Linked DNA regions of Homo sapiens: regions 1, 2, 3, 5 and 6 are each linked to region 4. The links are contacts of gene promoters, found by promoter capture Hi-C in human tissues and cell types (Jung and others, 2019). All regions are on one chromosome and are shown on one strand. Each heading gives the region's core, a stretch centred on a gene start or on the middle of the fragment in contact. The rest is flanking DNA. Distances are from core to core; before and after follow the strand shown. Region 1 has its middle 15 kb from the start of RALY. Region 2 overlaps RALY (RALY heterogeneous nuclear ribonucleoprotein). Region 3 holds the start of LOC105372593 (a long non-coding RNA gene). Region 4 holds the start of ACTL10 (actin like 10). Region 5 has its middle 50 kb from the start of CDK5RAP1. Region 6 overlaps RALY (RALY heterogeneous nuclear ribonucleoprotein).

Region 1 (3,103 bases), core at 155-2,654, 310 kb before region 4:
CTGAGCATCCCTGCATGTTCTTGCTGGTGCACCAGGAAGGCAAGACCCTGATTGCCCTTTACTCAGGCCATTTCTCAGGGTTGTGTTTGCAGAAAACAACCTTGAGGGATGAAGTCATGTCTTCAAAGGGAAGGTTTGTGACTGCTCACTGTAAAAGCAATAGTTTCTCTTAGCTCAGTATTCCTCTCCTGTGACACAACTCTGTGTGAGCAGGCCCACCTGCATCACATCCTCAGGACTTCAGAGGTTTGGGGAATCAGGGTAAGCCTGAAGTCAGCATCTACTTTCTCTGTAAGTAATACAGTTTCTTATCTCTGACCCAGGAGTCTATGTCTTCTGCCAGCATTCAGGAAATAATCTAGCTGATGAGTTTGTAAGTAGGGTAAAATCTCAGACCCTTCACAGTTCCTGATGTGGGTCACCTCCCATGAATGTTAACTGTCTCATGCACTGCACGGGAACTCTGTCTGCGAACTCCTTCAGAGAGAGGGTGTCCTGGGGCAACATGCAATGACAACCTGGGGAAGGGAACCTCATACATTCTCAAATGTAAAAGTTAGGAGAAACCTTTGTGATCAGAAGAAAGCTTAATGCAGTAATTCCTAGAAGGTGGGATATGTCCCTGGTGAGCCACAAGATGATTTAAAATGATATATGGGAAAGCATGATTTAAAATTTTCATAGCAATTGTTTCTACTATGCGTTACAAAAATACTCTTTTTTCTCCTTAAAGACATATTTAAACCAAAAGAATAGATTAACTTAAAAATATAAGTAAACAAGACTACAGTGTAAGACTGTGATTAACTGCGAGTAAGGACAAAAATGCTCTTTACAGTGATTTCAACCATAAGAACCAAATGTAATTATCTCATACAATTGAAAGTCCGTATGTTCCAGTTATCTATTGTGTATAACAAACCATCTGACTTAGTGATATAAAACAAAAACAACTGTATTCTGGTCACAGATTATGAGGATCAGGAATTCACACAGGGCACCATAGGGATAATTTATTTCTGCTCCATGATGTTTAGGGCCTTATTGAGGAAGACTCCCAGGGTTGAGGACTAGAATCATCTGAAGACTTCTGTGCTCACCTGTCTGGTGCCTGGGCTGGGATGACTCAAAGGTTGGGCACAGTGGGGACTGTAGATCACAATACCTACACATAGCTTCTCCGTGTGGCTTGGGCTTCCTCCTAGCATGACAGCCACAGGGTAGTTAAACTCCTTACATAGTGGCTCAGGAACCTGTGAGTAAGTATTTCAGTGAACAAGGCAGCAGCTGCATGGTATTTTACGACTCAGCCTCTGAAATCACACTGCATCATTTCTGCTATACTCTTTCTTGTTGTTGTTGTTGTTGTTGTTAATGAAGAAAAGATTTATTTAGTAATTACTACCTGCCCAGAAATTGTTCTGTGAATTTCACATACAACTCATCTAATCTTCACAATGATCCTATGAGGTATTTATGATTATCCTCATTATACAGAGGTGGAAAAGGAGGTATAGAGCCGTAAAGGTCATATTGTGCCACAGGTCACAATTAGCAAGTGGTAGAGCCAGGGTGTGAACATTAGGTAGGTGGGATTTCTGTTGTACTCTGTTGGTCAAAACAGAAGCCCATCCAGGTTCAAAAGGAAGGCACATGACACCACCCTTTTATGGGAAGAATGTCAAAAAATTTACTGGGCTAGCAAAAACTTAAATTTCCAAAAGACCTGCAGGTAGTGGCTTTAAATATATCTTTTTGTTGCCTCCGCCTCCTGAGTAGCTGAGATTACAATTTTTGTATTTTTAGTAGAGACGGGGTTTCACCATGTTGGCCAGGCTGGTCTCGAACTCCTGGCCTCAGGTGATCTGCCCTCCTCGGCCTCCCAAAGTGCTGGGATTACAGGTGCGCATCACTGCGCTCAGCCTTAAATATATCATTTTGAAAAAAAAGAAAATAGAGATTTCTATACTTAAGATGCTGCCTGATACCCTCACAAGTGTTCAGTAAACTTGCTTGTTATTATTACTTGAACTAAGTCTTTTTTTTTTACATGTATACCAATATAGAGAGAGACACAAGTATCATTGCACACAGATGCAATATCATACATACAATGCTGTTTCTTTTAAAAACTACAGTGTGGCTCTCTCTTCATATCTGTGTCTATAAAATTACTTCCTTTTAAAATATTTTTATTATGGAAAATTTCAAGTATATACAAAAGCAGAGGAAATAATATATCAAATTCCCATTTGCCCATCATCCAACTTCAGTGTTTATCAATTTATGGCTAGTCTCTACCTACACTCATTTCTTTATTCCCACATTATTTTGAAGCAAATCTCAGAAATCACATTTTTTCATTCATAAACATTTTAGTATGTGTCAGAGCTATCTTTCTTTTTTTAATGACAAAAGCAATACCTGGTTGTTACTTAAAAACACTAATGTTACAGACACAGATAACATGGAAAATAAATATTCCTTGCTATGGTTTGAATGTCCCTTCCAAAACTCATGTTGAAATTTATTTACCAATGTGATGGTATTGGGTAGTGGGGCCTTTAAGAGGTGACTAGGTCATGAGGGCTTGAGGGAGTGGGTTAATTTTCATGGGAGTGGGCTCCTGATAAAAGAAAGAGTTTAGCCCGATATCCTCTCTCTGTCTTGTGCACTAGCTTCCACCTTCTGCCCTTCCACCATGGGAAGACCCTCACCAGATGCTAATGCAATGTTCTTGGACTTCCCAGCCTCCAGAACGATGAGCCAAATAAACTTCTGTTCTTTATAGATTACCTAGCCTGTGGTGTTCTGTTATAGTAGCAGAAAACAGACTAAGACATCTTTCACAGCCACAATCTCTAGACATAACTGCTTTCTTTCTTTTTTTCTCTTTTGAGACAGGATCTTGCTCTGTCACCTAGGCTAGAGTGCAGTGGTATGATCAGGGCTTACTGCAGCCTCACCTGCCTGGATTCAAGCAATTCTCCCTCATCAGCCTCCCAAGTAGCTGAGATTACAGGCACACACCACCATGCCCAGTTATTTTTTTTAATTTTTTTGTAGAGATAAAGTCTTTCTACATTGCCCAGGCTAGTCTCAA
Region 2 (2,700 bases), core at 135-2,634, 390 kb before region 4:
GATCAATCAAGTGTGCCCCTGCCACCTCCTGTTTAAAATCCTTCAAGGGCTTCCCACCATAAAGAATCAAGTTCAAATCCTTTAATGTGGCTTACAAGACTCTTCATGAGTTAAGGCTACCAAATCTATACACAACAATCCTCTGAGTGGTTATATGTCATTCACTTTATAAATGAGTAAACCCTAGTGGGTTTAAATCCAGGATCAGCACTTACTAGTTGTGTGACCTTGGACATCTCATTAAACTCATTGAGCCAATGTTCTCTATTAGGCAAACCCTAGTGCAGAGAGTAAACCCTAGCGCAGAGAACATGCCTAAGGTCAGAGAGTGAACATGTCAATGTGAAATGGGTTCTTCCGAAGGGATGAGTATCATACTCCAAAGGATAGACTCAAGTTCAAAATCACCTTTTCTTGGATTAGTCATTGAGAAGTATGGGGATAGGGCATTGTATGGTTCAGGTGAACCGTTCCTTTCAGAGAGCAGCTTAGACACTGTCCCTTGTTTGAAGCTGCCACCCTGACCCCTCTCTCACTCCCACAGCAGCAGCATCATTAATAAACTTGGTGTAATGAACAAAATGTTCATTAGCATGTAATACGGTATACATATGCACGCTTATGTCCAAGATGCCCTGCTACCATAAGCTAAGCATCAAACGAAAGCCAACCAATGAACCCCTGCAACTTCACAAAAAACAGCCCTCAAAACGACAGGTATAACACACCCAATGCCTAGTGAACTTCTAAACTCATCAATTCAACTGATCATGACAGAAGCAGCTTTGGTATCTATGGTCTTTCCCCCTTGTCATTGTCTTAGAAAGAATTAACCCTTCCCGGCCCCCTTCCCCTCAAAAAGGAGGCACTACACTAAACAAGCTTCTACACTGCAACTGGTTAAAAGAAAAAAAAAAAGTTTCTCCAAAACTGTAATAGGTGTCTCAGCTGCAGGAGAAAGGGCATGGCTTTGGACAGAGACAGAACAAGGTTTAAATCCAGGATCAGCCACTTACTAGCTGTGTGACCTTGGACATCTCATTAAACTCCATGAACCAATGTTCTCTATTAGGCATATACATTTCCCCCACATACTGTTATTCACCACGCCCTCCTCATTTGGCCTCAATATTTTTAGAATGTAGCCCCCCTCTCTCCATTCTTATTACCATTCTTTAAATAATCCTCTACTGTCACCACAGCAATATTACCATATCATTTCTTTGTTTAAAATGGGTAAGATCAGAGGTTGTTTTTTTTTTTTTTTTTTTGAGACGGAGTCTCGCTCTGTCGCCCAGGCTGGAGTGCAGTGGCGCCATCTCGGCTCACTGTAAGCTCCGCCTCCCAGGTTCATGCCATTCTCCTGCCTCAGCCTCCAGAGTAGCTGGGACTACAGGCGCCCGCCACCATGCCCAGCTAATTTTTTGTATTTTCAGTAGAGACAGGGTTTCACCGTGTTAGCCAGGATGGTCTCGATCTCCTGACCTCGTGATCCGCCCGCCTCAGCCTCCCAAAGTGCTGGGATTACAGGCGTGAGCCACCACACCTGGCTGGTTTATTATTTTAAAATTCTTAACCAATAATTTGGGTAAGAATTTGTGCTATTATATTGAGTATGTTTATTATATGAAATTACCATATGAAATCATCTAACCCCCACCCCTCTATGGGACATAACTGTTAGCATGTTCATGTATTTCCTTCCAGTGTTTTTCTTGCACATTATGTTTGGATTACATGGTTAGATAACTCAACTCTGTAGCCTAATTTTTTCAATTAGCATTATAACACATTTATTATATATATTATAGCATATTTGTCCTTACTGCCGCATAGTTTTCGGTAAGCATCATTTTTTACACTACTGCTTTAAAAGCTCGTGGTTTTCCCTGAGTAGATTTATCATAGTTTAGATTGGTGGTCTTTTAGGCTTTTTCCAATTTCTCACTATTATAAACAATAGCATCTGAGGGAAAGCTTATTGTATAAACTAGACTATTTCCTTAGGACAGACTCCCAGAAGTGGAATGACTGGTCAAATATATGAACATTTTATTGGCTCTGGCAACACATTGCTTAACTGCTTTCCAAAAGAGTTACACCAATTTACACTGTTATCTCCAATGAATGCCACTTTCATGGCAACCTCGCAGCACCATGTATTACCATATTGGGCAGGTGGTGGGGTAGGGAGAGTAGAGGTGAATTAGTAGGGAAAATCAAATCCTCATTACTGTTTTCATGTACATGTGAAGATGTATAGTCTACTGTGTTTACTAGCTTTTGAGTCTACAAAGTTTTGAGTGCCATGAAGTTACTGTAGGTTCCTAGGTAGAGGAATAACATGCTAAAAAGATTTACTCATTTATCAAAAAATCATTTATTGTTCACCTATTACTGCCAGACACTGTATAAAACTACAGAGGTTAATAAAGTACAATCTCCCCCCTGGAAGAATTTATAGTCCAGTCAGTGGTGAAAACCTCAAGAAAACCAGAACCTATGTTTCATCTTGATGAGGTCTATGACAGGAGCAACTAGGAACTTGGAGGCATGTCAATTACCTAAGGGACAGAAAGAAAGGGAGACGACTCAGACAAGAAGAGTCAACAGTAAGTTCCAATCTTGTCCTGAAGGATGAGTTGAAGTTAACCCACACACAGGTAAGAGAGTACATTTAAGAGGAAATAGCATAAGGAA
Region 3 (2,933 bases), core at 43-2,542, 410 kb after region 4:
AGTTTATGGAGCCAATGCCCTAAAGAAATCAGCAATTTACAAATGGATAGCTTTTTTTTTTTTTTTTTTTTTTTTTTTTTGAGACAGGGTCTCACTCTGTCACCTAGGCTGGAGTGCAGTGGTGCAATCTTGGCTCACTGCAAACTCCGCCTCCTGGGTTCAAGCAATTCTCATGCCTCAGCTTCCTGAGTAGCTAGGACCACGCCCAGCTAATTTTTGTATTTTCAGTAGAGACGAGGTTTCATTATGTTGCCCAGGCTGGTCTCAAACTCCTGAGCTCAAAGCGATCAACCCACCTCAGCCTCCCAAAGTGCTGGGATTACAGGTGAGAGCCACTGTGCCCAGCCATGGATAACTTGTTTTAAGAACAAGAGAGAGCAGGGGCAAGACTGAGTGTGTACCGTTATTTATCCCAAGTGAGTGCCATTTGCTTCTGAGCTTGTTACCTTGAGTATTGAAAAGAACACATTTTCCAGATTAAAAGCTCCATAGTAAGTACCTAAGGCTGCATTGGGCTGTTCCAGTAAAGATACTACAACAGTCAACGCACTGTGTTAAATTTCTGGAGGTCCACCCTCATCTGCCGTAATCCAGCTCGTTTTACAAACGGGAGAGTGGAAATGGATGGAGTAAGCCGTTCCACTCTGTATTTCCTACTGAATGAAACAAAAACCCTGGACACAGTGAATGAGAAAGCTCTCTGAGGGTTCTGAAAACAATAGTGGCAGGGACATTGGGAAGGAAGTCATAATTTAAAGTATGAATGATCTATAAGTGAGTTTCCTGGGTTTTTATTCCTTTTATATTTTTCAGAATTTATCTGCATCACAAACTTGAGCTTTAAACAAATAAAAATTCATATCTTCTTCCTGCTTTATAATGGCATGTCTTGACCTTTGATACCTATCAAATCATCCCTCAGGCAGACAATGAGAATTCGGATCCTCTTCCTAACTTCATTCAAGTTGTTGTGTAAACCAATATCTGTTCCTCTTCATTGCCCAGTAGTATTCTGTGGTATAGATGTACTGAAGTTTGTTTATTCACCTAATGAAAGGCATTTGGGTTGTTTCCAGTTTTGGGATATTATGAACAAATTTGCTATAAACATTAAGGAACACGGCCAGGCGCATTGGCTCACGCTTGTAATCCCAGCACTTTAGGAGGCCAAGGTGGGTAGATCACTTGAGGTCAGGAGTTTAAGACCAGCCTGGCCAACATAGTGAAACCCTGTCTCTACTAAAAATACAGAAGAAGTAGCTGGCTATGGTCACGTGCATCTGTAATTCCAGCTACTCGGGAGGCTGAGGCATGAGAATCACTTGAACCTGGGAGGCGGAGGTTGCAGTGAGCCAAGATCATGCCACTGCACTCTAGCCTGGGCAACAGAATGAGACTCTGACACACACACGCAAAACCAAATGCCCCCCCCCCGCCCCCCGCCGCCAAAAAAAAATCCCCAAACATGAAGGAACAGGTTTTGTTGTGAGCATATTTCATTCCTCTAGCCTAAAAATCTAGAAGTAGGGTTGCTGGGTCATATGTTAAGTGTATGTTTAACATTTTTTTCCAAGTATACATTGTGATTAATTTTTATGAAGTTGAAGAAATGGCTAAAATAATGTATGTTACTAGAAATCAAAACAGGGGCTGCATATGGTAGAGTGAGTGGGTATTGGTTAAAACGTTACAAGGAGTTTTTTTTTGTTTTCTTTGTGACAGAGTCTCACTGTGTCACCCAGGCTGGAGTGCAGTGGTGCAATCTCAGCTCACTGCAGCGTCTGCCTCCCAGGTTCAAGTGATTCTTGTGCCTCAGCCTCCCGAGTAGCTGGGACTACAGGTGTTTGCCACCATGCTTGGCTAATTTTTGTATTTTTAGCAGTGATGGGGTTTTGCCATGTTGGCCAGGCTGGTCTTGAACTCCTGACCTCAAGTGACCTGCCCACCTCGGCCTCCCAAAGCGCTGGGACTGCAAGCATGCGCCACAGCACCTGGCCACAAGGAAATATTTTATGTGTTAATAGACATGATCTATATATTGATAAGGCTGTGGTATACTATAAGGAATATAAAGTTTAAAACTCTATAAAGCCATGCATTTAACATGTGCACATTTTACTACATTTTAATTTTATATAGTTACAAAAACAGTGAGAAAGGAAAAGAAGAATGATCATTAGCAGTAATGGACAAAACATATTTTATTTATAAATTTTCTTCTTTCCTTTCCTTTCCTTTTTTTTTTTTTTTTTTTGAGACAAAGTTTCACTGTTGTCACCCAGGCTGGAGTGCAATGGTGTGATTTCAGCTCACTGCAACTGAGGAATTCCGCTTCCTGAGTTCAAGCGATTCTTCTGCCTCAGCCTCCCGAGTAGCTGGGATTACAGGTGCCCACCACCACGCCTGGCTAATTTTTGTATTTTTAGTAAAGACGTGATTTCACCATGTTGGCCAGGCTGGTCTCGAACTCCTGACCTCAGGTGATCCACCCGCCTTGGCCTCCCAAAATGCTGGGATTACAGGCATGAGCCACTGCGCCTGACCTAAATTTTCTTTTCTAACTGACCATAAAAGAGACCAATCCAGGCTTCCAGTTAATAGCTGGGTTCCATTTGGAATGCTGGGGTGTTCTTTGGTTTTTGCTATGCTATGGCTGTGGGATCCATGGTTGCTGGGCAGAGGCCTATGGTGGCTGCAGTGCCATGCAGGGGCTGTGATCTTCTGCGGAGCTGGGCCCTAGGCTGACCCTCGGGAAGCTGGGCGAGGTGATAGTGGAGCTGCTGCCACATGACCTGAGTCCATGACTCATTTTCCATGGCCTCCAAGGGGAGATATTGGTGTGTCTGCCTCTTATCGGCTTAACATTTTAAGAAACTACCATACCGTCTTCCAGAGGGGCCATACTGTTTTTCATTCCCACCAGGAATGTATGA
Region 4 (2,887 bases), core at 99-2,598:
TTTAGATAGAGAGCTGTCCCCCAACGCAGTGCCACCCCCCCCAGTCCAGCCTGACTCAGTTGAACACATCGTACAGCAGCCTGGAGCCACACTCCTGGTACATGGCCCGAGTTATCCAGCGGCGCTGGAAGGAGTGCAGGGAGGCCACCATGGAGCCGCCGGTCCACACAGCCATGCCACGCCCATGCTTGGCCACCAGGTGGGGCCGCAGGGCCGCGTAGCCGTGCCGCCGGCACTGCGCCTCCAGCTCCTTGTCCAGGCGCTCGGCGAAGCCAGGAAACAGTGTGGAGCCGCCGGCTAGCACCACGGTGTCTGCCAGGCGTGTCCGCAGCGTTTTGGGCATCTTCTGCAGCGCCCGGAAGGCCAGCGCGGGCAGCCCCTGCTCAGCCTGGCCCAGCAGGCCCGGCTGGAAGATGGGTTCGGGGCAGCGGAAGCGCTCACTGCTGAGGCAGACGCAGCACCCGTTACCCACGCTGAAACTGGCCGGATGGTGGCGGGCGGGGTCGCGGAGGTCGCCCTCGAAGTCCAGGGACACGTAGCAGCTGCGCTTCTTGAGATGTGTGATGGCCTTGCGGGGCAGGGCCTGCTGCAAGAGGTCAGGGTTCGCCGCCACCAGCAGATCCCGCAGGTAGCGCGACAGGGTGCTGCCTGCCACGTTCAGTCGGAAGGTGGCCTGGTGCCACGAGTGACCCGCGTAGATGGGCGTGGCGTGGCACACGCCCGCGCCCGCCTCCACGGCCAGCCCGCTGAACGCGCCGGTGGAGCAGAGCGCCAGCAACGCGGTGCTAGCCATGTGGCACGCGGGCACTGCCAGGGTCTCGAACAGCAGCTCCGCCACCCTTTCGCGGCCCGCGGGCGGCGCCAACGGCGAGTCGCTCACCAGCACGGGCCACTGCTCTGGGCACACCCGCAGGCCGCCCACCAGCAGGCGCTCCCACAGCCCTTCCAGCGCCTCCCAGTCCGCCACCACGCCGTGCTTGATGGGGTGCGCCCGCGCCACGCCGCCCGCCAGCTCGCAGCCCGGCGCTCCGGGCAGCACCGGCCGGTCCCAGCTGGGCACCAAGCTAGAGCTCTTCAGCACTATGCGCGGCTGGTTCTCGCCCGCGAAGCCCGCCTTGGTGAAGCCCGAGCCCTGGTCCACCACCACCGCGATGCGGCCCAGGGAGGACGGCCGGTGCACGCGGCGGCTCCCCGACACCGACGCCACCTTCGGGCTCGGCCCAGCCGCGGGGCTGAAGGCTCCGCTCCTCCGCGCCACTCGGCTTCGTCGGCCCGATACCTCCCGGCCTCTGTCCTAGGGAGTAGTCCCCTTCAGCCTTTGGCTCTGCCTCCGGAGCCTAAGTTCTTCCTCTTCTGGACCAAATCACCACCCTTTTCAGCTCTTGGCTCCGCCCTCTGGTCTGAAAGCCCCGCCTCTTCTGTCCGGGCCATCCGCCTCCTTTTCAGCTCGTGGCTAGTTCCTAGGCCTGAGGCCCGGCCCCTAGTTCAGGCTTCAGTCTCCGCTCTGGCTGGGTTCCAGCCGCATCTCACCCTCTTGGTCTCCCTCTGGCGCCGGGCTTCAGGCTCCACGCTCTCAGGACCCGCCTCTGCTTTGCTGTTCCGCCCCGTCAGCCCTTGCTGAGATGGCTGACGAGATGGCTAGGACTGATCCTTTTAGATCCTAAGAAGCCCCCGGGAGGAGCAGAACTTTGAGGGCGAAGGGGCCTTGTGGTAAGGCCATTTGGACATATATCCCCCTTGAGGACCCAGGCAGCCTCCTGGCACCTCTCACCTGGGCTTGACGGAAGTTCCTGGTTGTGGAGAGGGGAGGGGCTGGTCAGAAGGCAGAAAAGAACTTGGATTGGGCTCATTGTGACCTCACTCCCCAGCAGCTGCACTTCGCAGCTCCCTACCTTATGACAACTCCCTGGACCCATCCTCTCTTCTGGACAGAGCCAAGGGCAGTGATTTTGGCATCCAGGGGTCTGGCTTCAGCAGCCCAGCACAGTCTGATTCCTTTCCCAAACCACTTAGAATTATCTGATGTACTCTGTCCAGATGTGTGGCCCCCTACCCCTCCCAGTGCTGAAGAAAAAGCTTTTTCATCACAGATCTGCAGCTTCCCTGAAGAGCCCCCGAGAGGCTCTGGCCCTACCTTTATGGGCTTCCACGGATGGATTCACGTGGGCCTCAGTTTGAGACTCAGTTCTTTTTTTTATTATTATTATTTTTGAGACGGAGTCTCGGTCACCCAGGCTGGGCGTGCAGCGTTGCAATCTCAGCTCAGTGCAACCTCTGCCTTCCGAGTTCAAGTGATTCTCCTGCCTCAGCCTCCTGAGTAGCTGGGACTACAGGCATGCACCACCATACGCGGCTAATTTTTGTATTTTTAGTGGAGACAGGGTTTCGCCACGTTGGCCAGGCTGGTCTCGAACTCCTGACCTCAGGTGATCCACCTGCCTTGGACTCCCAAAGTGCTAGGATTACAGGTGTGAGCCACCGCACCCAGCAAGACTCAGTTCTGAAGCTGACTCACTGTGCAGTCCTAAGCAAGTCTTGATCTTTCTCTGGGTTCGGTTTTCTCCTCCAAAAGGTAGTAATAATCCCCCCACACAGGAAAGAGGTCACTTCTTGTCTCTGCAAAGCCTCATCCTCCTGAGGACCAGTTTGGTTGCAGGTAGAAGACTCAGGTGAATGTAACCCAAAATAAGGACTTTATTGAAAGGATCTTACATGTTATGGATATCAAGAGCAAGGGTGAAATCAGGTTTCAGGAACAGAATCTGACTGCGGGGCTGTGGGGAACCCAGGATGTGCACTGCATTGTGTTGTTTGTTTTTTGAGATGGAGTCTCGCTCTCTTGCCCAGGCTGGAGTGCAGTGGTGTGATCTCAGCTCACTGCAACCTC
Region 5 (2,979 bases), core at 372-2,871, 320 kb after region 4:
TTTGTTAAAGTGGGCTTTAGCCTAGAGTGAAAAAGCAGAAAAAACATCTCGGTAATCACATGAGACCGACACCCATTTCAATGCCTTTGGAGGTCTGACTGGGGAGGTGGAGGGTGAGGTGGTCCTGAAGGTATTGCTGTGGGAGGAGCCTGAGGACACGTGGCTGTTGACCTCCCCAACTCCACTGTGGTGCGGGACCGTGGGCATGGTGGGGTTTGCAGTGCCCTGAGGGCAGGCACCTGGTGAAGGAGGAGCTGCTGCTGAGCTCCGGCTGCCCGTGGACCCCATGCAGTTAGGCTCAGGGCACCCAGATCTCTGACTTTCCAGGAGAAGCCACATTCATTATTTTTCAGGTGAATGGCCCTTGTTTAAGTGTTTCTACCAGTAAGGTGTGTGTGTGTGTGTGTGTGTGTGTATCTGTGTCACTTTTTTTTTTTTTTGAGACAGAGTCTCACTCTGTTGCCAGGCTGGAGTGCAGCGGTGCAATCTCGGCTCACTGCAACCTCTGCCTCCTCCTATCCAAGTGATCCTTCCACCTCAGCCTCCCTAGCAGCTAGGACTACAGGCACATGCCACCATGCCTGGCTGATTTTTGGATTTTTTGTAGGGACAGGATTTTGTCATGTTGCTCAGGCTGGTTTCCAACTCCTGGATTCAAGCGACCCACTCACCTTGGCCTCCCAAAGTGCTGGGATTCTAGGTGTGAGCCACCTCGCCTGGCCAACAGTCACATTCCTTACCTTCCTGTACATGCGCTGTCAGCCTGGCAGGCCCTCATTCCTTCCCACATTCCAAAGCCCATCTTGTCTGTAATTTCCTTTCATGGATATTCTGACCTTCATTGGTTAATATGCATTTCCCCCTGCTTATGAAATGCAAACTCCACAGAGCAGGAAAGTTAGAAGTTTCAGCAAAGTAAACTTTGCTATTGTTAGTTTAAAAACCAACAATAGCTGGGCATGGTGGTGCACACGTGTAATCCCAGCACTTTGGGAGGCCGAGGCATGCAGATCATTTGAGGTCAGGAGTTTGAGACCAGCCTGATGAACATGGAGAAACCCCATCTTTACTACAACAACAGAGAAATTAGCCAGGTGTGGTGGTGTGCACCTGTAGTCCCAGCTACTCGGGAGGCTGAGGCAGAAAAATCATTTGAATCCAGGAGGCAGAGGTTGCAGTGAGCCAAGATCACGCCACTGCACTCCAGCCTGGGCGACAGAATGAGACTCCATCTCAAAATAAAATAAAATAAAACTAACAATAGCTGGGCGTGGTGGCTCACACCTGTAATCCCAGCACTTTGGGAGGCCCAGGCAGGAGGATTGCTTGAGCCCAGGAGTTTGAGAGCAGCCTGAGCAACATAGCAAGACCTGGTCTCCACAAAAAATTAAAAAAAAAAAAAGAAGTTAGCTGAGCACCTTGGCACACACCTGTGGTCCCAACTACTTGAGAGGCTGAGGTGGGAGGATCACCTGAACCTAGGAGATCCAGGCTGCAGTGAGCTGTGATTGTGCCTCTGCACTCCAGCCCCGGTGACAGAGTGAGACCTTGTCTCAAAAACAAAACAAAAAAAAAACAACTTCACAAGCATTTCTGTATACCATTATAAATGTTGTCAGCATTTCTAATCTTGTACTTGGTTTAATTATTTGCTTTTTGTTTCAGGTTTTTTGTTTTTTAAATTCCCATCATGAATACCCCTATGTCTTTGTGTTTAAATGTATCTGTACTTAGGTTTTTTGGACAGATTCCTGTAAGTGAAACTAACTGAGTCTAAAACCTTGCCTCTTTCAGCACTTTTCATGACCTAGTTTTGCCTTCCCTAGTGGCTTAGTGGGGTGGGTGGGGTGAGTGGGTCCTGTCATTTTCTTTTTTTTTTTTTTTTTGAGATGGAGTCTCGCTCTGTCACCGAGACTGGAGTGCAGTGGCGTGATCTCGGCTCACTGCAACCTCCGCCTCCCAGGTTCACGCCATTCTCCTGCCTCAGCCTCCCGAGTAGCTGGGACTACAGGCGCCCGCCACCACGCCCAGCTATTTTTTTGTATTTTTAGTAGAGACGGGGTTTCACTGTGTTATCCAGGATGGGCTCGATCTCCTGACCTCGTAATCCGCCCGCCTAGGCCTCCCCAAGTGCTGGGATTACAGGCGTGAGCCACCACACCCAGCCCGTCAACATTTTTGTTCACATTATTGGAGGATGAGGCTCCCTGGACCATTCTCTTGCCTTGCCCACCTGTACTTGGGGAGAGGGGCAGCTGTGTGCAGTGCCCGCTTTGCCCCATCCTCACCCATGCTGCTGTCCTCTCTGTTGTCTCTACCTGGTCTTTGCTCACTGGATGTTACAACCCTGGGGCAGGGGGACCCAGTGGACTGCTGTGTGCACAGACTCACCCTTTTCCACCTATGAAGGCCGTAGTCGTGGCTTGGACATGGATCCCATCGCCTGTCGTGGTTGACTTCATGCTCTCCACAGTTACTTTTTCAACCTGTAATCTGCAAAGCGAAAGCATCAAGAGTCAGTCCTGTTTCAACGAATCAGCCTGGACAGCAGGAGAAATGCCTTTGAAGCAGATAATTAACAGCCTACCAAGCCACCATCCAGTCCCTTGACCCCTCAGCTGTCTAATGTGCCCAGGCCTATAAGCTCAAAAATCTTGATCCTGTTTCCCCCTGAAAGGATATAGGCACAGCATAGAGCGAGAATATTTCTGGTGAAATATATCAATCTCAAGCAATATACCCATCCCAATCCGTGGGACTGTTGGAAGTTGAACATGAGCATCCAAATCAGCAGGTTTCTGGTGGAGAAGTCATACATAGGGTCAAGGAAGCACTTACCCCAGCAAGAGCTGTTCCAGGTCAGCATTTTTCAGCAGGTCTGGGAGTGCATCGCTGATGCCTGAGGGCAGGGTGCTGTTCAGCACGCCCTGAGCAGACTCTTTGAGGTCTTGGACTTTGTCGGTCACATCCTTCAGAGGC
Region 6 (2,700 bases), core at 165-2,664, 350 kb before region 4:
TAGATGGCTTGAAAGTGTAAGGGAGATACTTTGTGTATAGAAGAGAGGACATACATGCACATCAATTGTGTGTGTGTGTGTGTGTGCACATGTTGCAAAGCATTGAGCCTGTAGGGATGGGGAAAAGTAGGTGTCTGCCTCTGTGTGGCCTATACACCTGTATGCATGAGAAAACAGATCCATGAACATTCCTGACTCATCTAGCCCTGGCTTTGCCTGAAGGCTCCTACCACTCAAGGGCAAACCTATCTGCAGAAATTTCTCATTAAAATTGACATTTTGACAACTACGAAAAATAAAATGATAATGACACCCCCAGCACTGTGGGAGGTTAAAAAAAAAAAAGTCTATGCCAATAAAACACAAGAGACAGATGAGAAGCAATTATGCCTCAATTACTTCTCAGCTTCACAAGGGGAGGTGTTATTTGGAGTTAAACATTGTATGGCTGATTCACATCTCCACCCAAAGACTTGGATTTCTTGGGTTACCTAGGAAAAGTGCAAAAAAGAAGTAGGTAGAGAAAGGTAAATAAAGTTTTTTGCTTTTTTGTTTTTTTATGAAGGACTGGAGAAAGGGGGAGATTTAAAAAAAAAGGGGGAAATATTGAGAAGAAACAAAAAATAAAAGGCAAAAAGGACAAAAGAGGTAGGAAGAAGGGAAGGAAAGAATAGGAAGAAAAGTAAATATCCTTTAGGCTGGCCCACAGAGATTTAGCACACATTTGGCAGAAATTCTGAATAAGGGGGACAGGTGGATTAGTAGGTAGGGCCTGGCTTCCGTACTTCCTCATTACTTTTACTCCTACCATTCCTTCCATCTAGAATGTTCTTCCCACCATCTCTGCCAACTGAACTCCTGAATCTTTAAGGACAAGCTCAAATGCTACCAGCTTCTAGAAGCTTCCAAGATTTCTTCCAGTTAGTTCTCTCTCAAGAATTCCAGTAAATTTCCAGAGCACTTTGTCACATTTCTTTTTTTGACTTTGAAAAAATCTGATTTTATTTTCTGAATCATAAAGAAGTATTTCATGTTAAATTTAGACTGTTTAGCTTTCCACTGATATCTCAAGATACTTTCCAGATATTAACAGTACTCAGAACTGTGTAAAGGTTAACAACCAATACCATGTTTTAAAGAAAAAAGTTTAAATGTAAGACTAATGTCTTGGGGACATTACTAAATGTATTTCTAAGAAACCCTTCTCAAAGGTCAAAGTATTGGCAATTCTAATTTTAAAATTTTTAATTTTTAATTATTGGAAATTTAAGTAACAATAGTTTCAAGAGCTAAGAATCAGACTGCTTTTTAAAACAGAATTTTTTTTCCCTGAGGGATTCATACTTGACAACAACTCCAGTTAAACATAATACTCCACCCAAATCCCAAATTTAAATGCATTATTTCACCTTGGAATAGTAAAATTATAAAATGGAATTTCTAAATTATAATACATATACATAATCCACCACTTTAACTGTCACGTTTACCCGCAGAATTATGAAATCAAAAACAAACTCTACATTCAAGAGACAAATGATAAATGCTCTTTCATTGTTTTAAGCATCCATTCCATTCTTTGTTGTTTTCTACTCCCATATTTTAAAATTATGACCAAAGGACCAAAGGCCAAGTCAATCCCATTTCCCTGAATCCAACTGCCAGTAGGTACTGGCCCTACATACGCGTCCTTTAACAAGCCCCGTTCTCAAAAGGCTGGGGGTATTTATATAAGAACTTATTCCAAAGTGACTCTAAGATCCACGTTCCCAAGATCTAGTACGGGCTACTCATGTGTTCTGAGGCATGTCCAGCATGCACGCAAACTTAATCTGTTCAAATTGAGGTAAAACAGACAAAAAACACTTAATATTAACAGAAGCTACATAATTAAAACTAACCTTTTGCTGCTTATTTAAGCTAATTATGTATTCTTGCAAAACAGAGACCCTCAAGTCAATAATTTTTTATTTTAGTCACCCCCAAATTAAGCCTCTTCTTTAAAGCGCACTGTCATATTTCATCTGTAGCACTCAACACCAAACTATACTATAAGTATCAATGCATACACATTTCCATCATTCATTTTGTAAGTACTATTTGTGCCAAGCCTATTTCAGAGACACAAGGGAAATAGAGATAAGTAGCACACTATCCCCTGGCCTATACTGTCTCGATCCAATGAATGAGAGAGGATTTGGGTGTGACACAGCACTAGAGTACAACTACAGCAGTCCTAGAAGTCAAAGGGCCTGCTATAAATCCTGTATTTTATTTGATCAAAATTAATTCTGCTTCTGTAGTGATCAGGGAAAGCTTCCCTGAGGAAGTGGCATTGGAATTGATATGAAAGATAAACAGGAGTCTGTCAGGTAAAGGGGATAAGAAGATAAGGGGATTTCTACTTAGGGGAAATACAGATGCTGCTCAATTTACAACAGGGTTACATCCCAATAAGCCCCTTGTAAGCTGAAAATACTGTAAGTCGAAATGCCTTTTTTTTTTTTTTTTTTTTTTTGAGACAAGGTCTCGTTCTGATGCCTAAGCTGGAGTATAGTAACACAATCAAGGCTTACTACAGCCTCAACCTCCTAGGCTCAAGCGATCTTCCCACCCCAGCCTCCCAAGTAGCTGCTGAGACTACAGGAATGCCCCATTATGCGAGCTAGTTTTTTTTTTTATTTTGTTTGTTTGTTTGTT

The links. Contacts are between HindIII fragments. The study calls those that stand out against the background at their distance.
Region 1: a fragment that was not itself captured here is called in contact with the fragment with the promoter of ACTL10 in region 4 in 1 of the 25 tissues and cell types used here (mesenchymal stem cells).
Region 2: a contact is called between a fragment that was not itself captured here and the fragment with the promoter of ACTL10 in region 4, in 1 of the 25 tissues and cell types used here (mesenchymal stem cells).
Region 3: a contact is called between a fragment that was not itself captured here and the fragment with the promoter of ACTL10 in region 4, in 1 of the 25 tissues and cell types used here (bladder).
Region 5: a fragment that was not itself captured here is called in contact with the fragment with the promoter of ACTL10 in region 4 in 1 of the 25 tissues and cell types used here (spleen).
Region 6: a contact is called between a fragment that was not itself captured here and the fragment with the promoter of ACTL10 in region 4, in 2 of the 25 tissues and cell types used here (hippocampus and lymphoblastoid cells).

The regions. Positions count from the first base shown.
Region 1 is chr20:33,977,370-33,980,472 of GRCh38, reverse strand. No RefSeq gene overlaps it. Among named protein-coding and RNA genes, the nearest start is that of RALY, 15 kb to the left of the region's middle. The HindIII fragment of the contact is 3,268 bases long and covers 1-3,038 here.
Region 2 is chr20:34,056,238-34,058,937 of GRCh38, reverse strand. The region is part of intron 2 of RALY (RALY heterogeneous nuclear ribonucleoprotein); the gene reads right to left. Among named protein-coding and RNA genes, the nearest start is that of MIR4755, 8.5 kb to the right of the region's middle. The HindIII fragment of the contact is 3,702 bases long and covers 1-2,700 here.
Region 3 is chr20:33,257,284-33,260,216 of GRCh38, reverse strand. It overlaps LOC105372593 (a long non-coding RNA gene), which reads left to right and starts at 2,721. Exons shown (of 3, transcript XR_936683.2): 1 at 2,721-2,837. The HindIII fragment of the contact is 7,894 bases long and covers 1-2,933 here.
Region 4 is chr20:33,665,404-33,668,290 of GRCh38, reverse strand. It overlaps ACTL10 (actin like 10), which reads right to left and starts at 1,348. Exons shown (of 1, transcript NM_001024675.2): 1 at 1-1,348. The coding sequence starts at 793. The coding sequence ends at 56. The region is part of intron 5 of NECAB3 (N-terminal EF-hand calcium binding protein 3); the gene reads left to right. RefSeq lists enhancers at 546-625, 1,436-1,655 and a silencer at 976-1,305. The HindIII fragment of the contact is 10,203 bases long and covers 1-2,887 here.
Region 5 is chr20:33,349,680-33,352,658 of GRCh38, reverse strand. It overlaps the pseudogene BPIFB9P. Among named protein-coding and RNA genes, the nearest start is that of CDK5RAP1, 50 kb to the left of the region's middle. RefSeq lists an enhancer at 2,601-2,979. The HindIII fragment of the contact is 4,703 bases long and covers 1-2,979 here.
Region 6 is chr20:34,013,232-34,015,931 of GRCh38, reverse strand. The region is part of intron 1 of RALY (RALY heterogeneous nuclear ribonucleoprotein); the gene reads right to left. Among named protein-coding and RNA genes, the nearest start is that of RALY-AS1, 20 kb to the right of the region's middle. The HindIII fragment of the contact is 5,750 bases long and covers 1-2,700 here.